Linked DNA regions of Homo sapiens: region 1 is linked to region 2. Evidence: promoter capture Hi-C in 16 types of primary human blood cells and fetal thymus (Javierre and others, 2016). All regions are on one chromosome and are shown on one strand. Each heading gives the region's core, a stretch centred on a gene start or on the middle of the fragment in contact. The rest is flanking DNA. Distances are from core to core; before and after follow the strand shown.

The links. Contacts are between HindIII fragments. The CHiCAGO score rates a contact against its expected background, and 5 or more counts as called.
Region 1: a fragment that was not itself captured here is called in contact with the fragment with the promoter of HMMR-AS1 in region 2 in 1 of 17 cell types (naive CD8 T cells); the score reaches 6.4 in naive CD8 T cells.

The regions. Positions count from the first base shown.
Region 1 is chr5:168,591,243-168,595,283 of GRCh38, forward strand. No RefSeq gene overlaps it. Among named protein-coding and RNA genes, the nearest start is that of PANK3, 14 kb to the left of the region's middle. The HindIII fragment of the contact is 3,029 bases long and covers 645-3,673 here.
Region 2 is chr5:163,492,314-163,496,084 of GRCh38, forward strand. It overlaps HMMR-AS1 (HMMR antisense RNA 1), which reads right to left and starts at 1,745. Exons shown (of 4, transcript NR_109892.1): 1 at 1,386-1,745; 2 at 1,130-1,236. The HindIII fragment of the contact is 5,178 bases long and covers 1-3,648 here.

The DNA.
Region 1 (4,041 bases), core at 909-3,408, 5.1 Mb after region 2:
AAGTGTGGTACACAGATGGCTGCTGATCCCCAGACTGCTTTTGGCTTCCAACAAGATATGGAGCAGGAGGTAAGTCAACTGCATCACTAATCATACTGTTTGTAGTTCAGCTGGTATTTTCTTCACAGTAAGACTTTCTCCATGAAGGTAGCATTGCATTGATTTACATTTTGACCCAGGCTGTCACTGCCCTAGGCTTGGACCATTAACAAATAGTTCACTGTAAAGCTGCTTTGAGCAGCTCTGGTTTGGAGCATGGGCTTTGGAATCAGTCAGAGTGGGCTCTACCACTTAAGCAAGTTCCTTAAGCTGCCTGAGTTCCCTAGTAGGACACAAGGAAGAGTGTGGATTCTATTTCAAAAGCAATTCAAAGCCACTGGGAGGTTTCAAGCCCGATCATAAAGTTTCTTGTGAACCATGTTAGAGTTTGGACTTTGTTCAAGGAAAAGGGACCCACCAAAGATTTAAAAGCAGGGGAATGTCAGGATTAGAACTGTATTTTGGAAAGTTTACTCTGGCTGTGGTAAAGATAACAGCTTAGGCGGGACAGGAGGCAAAGAAACCAGCTAAGGGAAGGCATTCTGGTGGTGGAATGAGAGAATAAATGTAAGAATGAGTGAATTCATAGCATTTACTAGATAACAAGCTTCCTTGTGGCAGGAGCCTCACCACCTTTTGCTATGGATGTTCTTCAGCACAAACTTTCAGTTTTTGTGCAAGTCAATTTTTAATTAACATTTAACTGGCAAAAATGACTAGCTAATATAAAATCAAGCTAGATTCTCTGTCCATTCTAGAGAAGTTGAGCCTTTGTGAGCAAGGCTGATCTCGCTCATGATACAGAAGTCTGTCTCTTTTACCTTGTTTACTTTTTTCCTGTTTACCTTCACAGCCACTGATCCTCAAGGTTAGCAGATGAGTAAGTTTCCAATAGCAGCTGAACTGGAGTGATTTCTATCTGGAACCAAACAAATAGCTAGACTCTGTTTGGAATTTCTGCTTCCAGAGTTATCCAGCCACAGAGCCTGTTGCACAAGGCAAACTGGCACTTGCCCAGCATGCTTAATAGAATTCTTAGTACTCTTACCTAGAAGTCCTATTCATTATTTGAGGCCATGCCAGTCAACACCAGCTCAACCAATATCAATGACCAAGTAACAATGAAGACAGCTATTTGTTGAGCACTTACTATGTAGCAGGCACTGAGCTAAGGGATTTACATGCATTTTCTGATTTTTTTTCTTGTCACACAGAATGTTTTTATTCCTGCTAATAGATTCTTTATGATTTGAGATACATTTAGAATGTATATATTTTTATTATACTTTAAGTTCTAGGGTACATGTGCACAACGTGCAGGTTTGTTACATGTGTATACGTGTGCCATGTTGGTGTGCTGCACCCATTAACACGTCATTTACATTAGGTATATCTCCTAATGCTATCCCTCCCCCCTCCCCCTACCCCATGACAGGCCCCTGTGTGTGATGTTCCCCACCCTGTGTCCAAGCGTTCTCATTGTTGAGTTCCCACCTATGAGTGAGAACATGCGGTGTTTGGTTTTCTGTCCTTGTGATAGTTTGCTCAGAATGATGGTTTCCAGCTTCATCCATGTCCCTACAAAGGACATGAACTCATCATTTTTTATGGCTGTATAGTATTCCATGGTGTATATGTGCCACATTTTCTTAATCCAGTCTATCATTGATGGACATTTGGGTTGGTTCCAAGTCTTTGCTATTGTGAATAGTGCTGCAGTAAACATATGTGTGCATGTGTCTTTATAGCAGCATGACTTATAATCCTTTGGGTATATACCCAGTAATGGGATGGCTGGGTCAAATGGTATTTCTAGTTCTAGATCCTTGAGGAATCGCCACACTGTCTTCCATAATGGTTGAACTAGTTTATAGTCCCACCAACAGTATAAAAGTGTCCCTATTTCTCCACATCCTCTCCAGCACCTGTTGTTTCCTGACCTTTTAGTGATCGCCATTCTAACTGGTGTGAGATGGTATCTCATTGTGGTTTTGATTTGCATTTCTCTGATGGCCAGTGATGATGAGCATTTTTTCATGTGTCTGTTGGCTGCGTAAATGTCTTTTGAGAAGCGTCTGTTCATATCCTTTTCCCACTTTTTGATGCGGTTGTTTGATTTTTTCTTGTAAATTTGTTTAAGTTCTTTGTAGATTCTGGATATCAGCCCTTTGTCAGAGGGGTAGATTGCAAAAATTTTCTCCCATTCTGTAGGTTGCCTGTTCACTCTGATGGTAGTTTCTTTTACTGTGCAGAAGCTCTTTAGTTTAGTTAGAACCCATTTGTCTATTCTGGCTTTTGTTGCCATTGCTTTTGGTATTTTAGTCATGAAGTCCTTGCCCATGCCTATGTCCTGAATGGTATTGCCTAGTTTTCTTCTAGGGTGTTTATGGTTTTAGGTCTAATATTTAAGTCTTTAATCCATCTTGAATTAATTTTTGTATAAGGTGTAAGGAAGGGATCCAGTTTCAGCTTTCTACATATGGCTAGCCAGTTTTCCCAGCACCATTTATTAAATAGGGAATCCTTTCCCCATTTCTTGTTTTTGTTAGGTTTGTCAAAGATCACATGGTTGTAGATGTATGGTGTTATTTCTGAGGCCTCTGTTCTGTTCCATTGGTCTATATCTCTGTTTTGGTACCAGTACCTTGCTGTTTTCGTTACTGTAGCCTTGTAGCATAGTTTGAAGTCAGGTAGTGTGATGCCTCCAGCTTTGTTCTTTTTGCTTAGGATTGTCTTGGCAATGCAGGCTCTTTTTTGGTTCCATGTGAACTTTAAAGTAGTTTTTTTCCAGTTTTGTGAAGAAAGTCATTGGTAGCTTGATGGGGATGGCACTGGATCTATAAATTACCTTGGGCAGTATGGCTATTTTCACGATATTGATTCTTCCTATCCATGAGCATGGAATGTTCTTCCATTTGTTTGTGTCCTCTTTTGTTTCGTTGAGCAGTGGTTTGTAGTTCTCCTTGAAGAGGTCCTTCACATCCCTTGTAAGTTGGATTCCTAGGTATTTTATTCTCTTTGTAGCAATTGTGAATGGGAGTTCAGTCATGATTTGGCTCTGTGGTTGCCTGTTATTGGTGTATAGGAATGCTTGTGATTTTTGCACATTGATTTTGTATCCTGAGACTTTGCTGATGTTGCTTATCAGCTTAAGGAGATTTTGGGCTGAGACGATGGGGTTTTCTAAATACACAATCATGTTATCCGCAAACAGGAACAATTTGACTTCCTCTTTTCCTAATTGAATGCCCTTTATTTCTTTCTCTTGCCTGATTGCCCTGGCCAGAACTTCCAACATTATGTTGAATAGGAGTGGTAAAGGGGGCATCCCTGTCTTGTGCCAATTTTCAAAGGGAATGCTTCCAGTTTTTGCCCATTCATTATGATATTGGCTGTGGGTTTGTCATAAATAGCTCTTATTATTTTGAGATACATTCCATGAATACCTAGTTTATTGAAAGTTTTTAGCATGAAAGGCTGTTGAATTTTGTTGAAGGCCTTTTCTGCATCTATTGAGATAATCATGCGGTTTTTGACTTTGGTTCTGTTTATGTGATTGATTATGTTTATTGATTTGTGTGTGTTGAACCAGCCTTGCATCCCAGGGATGAAGCTGACTTGATCGTGATGGATAAGCTTTCTGATGCACTGCTGGATTCGGTTTGTCAGTATTTTATTGAGGATTTTCGCATCGATGTTCATCAGGGATATTGGCGTAAAATTCTTTTTTTTGTTGTTGTTTTGTCTCTGCCAGGCTTTGGTATCAGGATGATGCTGGCCTCATAAAATGAGTTAGGGAGGATTCCCTCTTTTTCTATTGATTGGAAGAGTTTCAGAAGGAATGGTACCAGCTCTTCTTTGTACCTCTGGTAGAATTTGGCTGTGAATCCGTCTGGTCCTGGACTTTTTTTGGTTGGTACGCTATTAATTATTGCCTCAATTTCAGAGCCTGTTATTGGTCTATTCAGAGATTCAACTTCTTCCTGGTTTAGTCTTGGGAGG
Region 2 (3,771 bases), core at 495-2,994:
CAGTGGCTCACGCCTATAATCCCAACACTTTGGGAGGCTGAGGCAGGTGGAATTCAAGACCAGCCTGAGCAACATAGTGATACCTCATCTCTAAAAAATATATAAATAAATAATAAAATGCTTCAGGACCTCTACTTTTAGCCAACATGGGGTAACAAGATGAACAACCAGGTGCACTGCCCAAAGTTCTGCCCACTGGGAGGATTTCTCTTTACCACTATCCTTCAGGGATGTCCCAGAGAAGGGCTGGTGTACTATGGCTATCCACTTTCAGGTGATGCCTACATATCACACAGAACCATCTATAAACTAGGCCCATGTTGTTTCTTCCTGTCAACTCATCATAGGGAACTCTCCATGAGCTTGGGAGAAAAAAGGCAAGGTAGCAGGAACAGGGACCATGGGCATTTGGGTCACTTCTTCATGTAACTTGCTTTTGCCTTCAGGTCCTGCCTGGGCCCAGTCACATACATAACACGTTCTTTGATGATGTACTCCTGCTGTCCACACCCAGCATTATGGCTTGTGGGTCAGATAACACCCAGCTCATGATGGGCAGCTCAGGTCGCATGGTAACTTAATTGACCACGGTAAGCATTCAGTCCCTACTGAAGCCCAGCAGTAGGCCCAGAGCTGTTTCTCAAAAGAGTAGTTATCTGCATAGGATAACAGGTCTTTCTTCAAAATACTAAGGGTCTGCACTGAGATTCATCTATGTGGGCCTGCCAAAGGTTCCAACAGCATCTCTATCTGCCACTGACACTTCAAATACCACTGGATCTGCAAGTTCATATGTCCCAAGCAACAAAGCCGCTTACACAATAGCCTGGACCTATTGCAGAACCTTTCCTATTCTGAGTCCTACTCCAAACTAGCAGCTTTTCAAGTCACTCAGTAAATGGGCCAGAGTAACAAACTCAAATGAGGAAACGTCTTCAAAATCCAAAGAGGCCTGCCGCATGTCATGCCTCTTCTGGTTGTAGGAGGGGGCAGATGCAAAAACTTACCTTAGAAGGGGTATCTCAACATGCCTCATACCACTGGACCCCTAGAAATTTTACTGAGACATGAAAAAGCCTTTGAATTTTTGTTGGATTTACTTCCCACTTCTGACATGCAAATGTCTTACCAATAGGTCTGGAGTAGTTGCTATGTCTCACTCATTAGGTCCAGTGAGCATAATGTCGTCAATGTAATGGACCAATGTGATGTGGAAAGAAAAGGCAATCAAGATTCCTGTGAACAAAATTAGGACAGGGCTGGTGAGTTGATATGCCCTGAGGTAGGACATGAAGGTGCATTTCTAGCCTTGCTAGCTAAAAGCAAACTGCTTCTGGTCGGCCTTATAGACAGGGATGGAGAGAAAGGCATTTGCCAGATCATACCAGGTAGCTGCATACCAGGAACCAGGAGTTGTGTTAATTTGCTCAAGCAATACATCTGGTACTGTAGCTGCAATTGGAGTCACCACCTAGTTAAGTTTGTGATAATCCATCTGTCTTCTGCCCAGGCTAAATAGGCGAGTTGAATGGACATATGGTAGGAATCACCACCCCGCCTTCCTTCAAGTACTTATGGTGGCACTAATCTCTTCAGTCCCTATAGGAATTGAGCATTGCTTTTGGTTTACTATTTTCCTAAGTACAGATAGTTCTAGTGGCTTCTACTTGGCCTTTTCCACCATAATAGCCCTCACTCCATAGGTAAGGAAACCAATGTGTGGATTATTCTGTCAGCTGCTGACTGTATTCTAATTATACATTCTAGAACTAGGGGATAACCACAGGATAGGTTCAGGAATTCACTGGGCCCATTGTGAGATGGAACTAAGCTAAAACTCTGCTGATCACCTGACCTCCATAAGCTGCTACCCTGACAGTAGCACTTTGGATCTCCTGAAATTAGTGTCACTTCAGAGAGCCAGTGTCCACTAGTTCACAAAAGATCTGATTATTCCCTTTTTCTAATGCACAGTTACGTTGGTAAAGGTTGTACATCCCTTTGCGGAGGACTAGGAGAAAGACTAACAGTATAAACATTTGGTTATGGACCAGGGTCCCTTTGAGGTCCTCCCCTTCAATCAAAGGGTTTTGGGCTCTATAAAGTGGCTCAAGTTTGGGAATTAAGGGACCACGATTCTGTTTTTATGATTCGAGTTCAACTTTCGTCACTTGACTTAGAAGTTTTCTGCTTATACAGATCAAGTTAAGACTTCAGTAGGCTTCCTATCTATTTCACGTCTAGGAAAACCATGATCAACTAGCCAAAGCATAGGTCTACAAGTGAGATTATTCTAATTGTTCCTTTGGCTCTGTCATTATGATAACCACTTCACCTTGCCTTTGGTGGTTGAGTCCCATTACTTGACCCTTGCCACCCTGGGATCCTTTACTTCCATTATATTTAGGTTTTCCAGTTCAGTGACTGCAGTGAGCTCTGGCCTACAGAGAAGAGCCATCACAGAGTTCTGAAAAAGATGCTGGAGCTCTCCTCGCAAATTTCTTTCTCATAGTATTGGTGAAAGGTATGCTTTCTTGACCTTCCCAGTGTGGATGAGTAGTTCTTTTTTTTTTTTTTTTTTTGAGACGGAGTCTCGCTCTGTCGCCCAGGCCGGACTGCGGACTGCAGTGGCGCAATCTCTGCTCACTGCAAGCTCCGCTTCCCGGGTTCACGCCATTCTCCTGCCTCAGCCTCCCGAGTAGCTGGGACTACAGGCGCCCGCCACCGCGCCCGGCTAATTTTTTGTATTTTTAGTAGAGACGGGGTTTCACCTTGTTAGCCAGGATGGTCTCGATCTCCTGACCTCATGATCCACCCGAGATGAGTAGTTCTTAAGTGAAAAATCTAATTTCCCAATATTCCTAAACCTTTTAATCCCATCCTCTAGATTAAACCAAGGCATGTCCAGCACTTCCAATTCATCTTTTCCATGTTTTAGTAAGCCAATCAAACTGTGAGCACCCTTTCTAACTCCCCAAGCTGCAATGTTAAATGCAGAATCTTGGCTTAGTGAGCCCATGTCAATAAATTTGACCTGATCCAACTTTATGTTCCTTCCATCATTTTCCAACACCTTTATTATCCATTCCGACATATGTTCCCAGATTTTTGTCTGTATAAATTAGAGACTTTGAGTAACTCTTTGGAGTATAGCACATCTCTTCATAGGTAACACTTTGTTCCTGTCTAGTTTCAGGTCTAGAAGCAAAGAAGGGTGGTGGAGTTGGGTCTGGAGGAGAACCAACATTGTCTTGCATATCAACTGCCTCAAAGGAGGCCATTACAATTTCCTCAGGCAATGCAGTGTTAATCATCACAGACAGGTTGGAGGGTACTATCACTGGAAATGGAGAAGCTGCTTCCAATGGGGTTGAGAAGCCTCTCCACTAGCAAAGAAGACTCATCAGAATTTAGGGGCTTAATGTCCCCAGCTTCATCAAGGTCTTCCCATATGTCCCAATCCTAATTTACAGAATCCCATTTTTTTTTCAGTAAGTGCCCTCCTTTTGACAATAGTCACTCTGCAAGGCTGGAATTCTAATTTGTGTTGTAATTCAGCCAGTCACAGGATGAGATGCTGTGTTTGATTTTCAACAGTCTCAGCTCTGGGGCTACAGGAGATAGGGTTTTCTTCAGGGTGCACATAGAAGCTTTCAGATTATTTATGGAGCACTTGAGCTGGGAATAAAAATCCCTACACTCACTTTTGCACCACTTTATCCAGTGACATTAGAAACAACCAACTGTCCTCATTATACTCATTATGAGGCA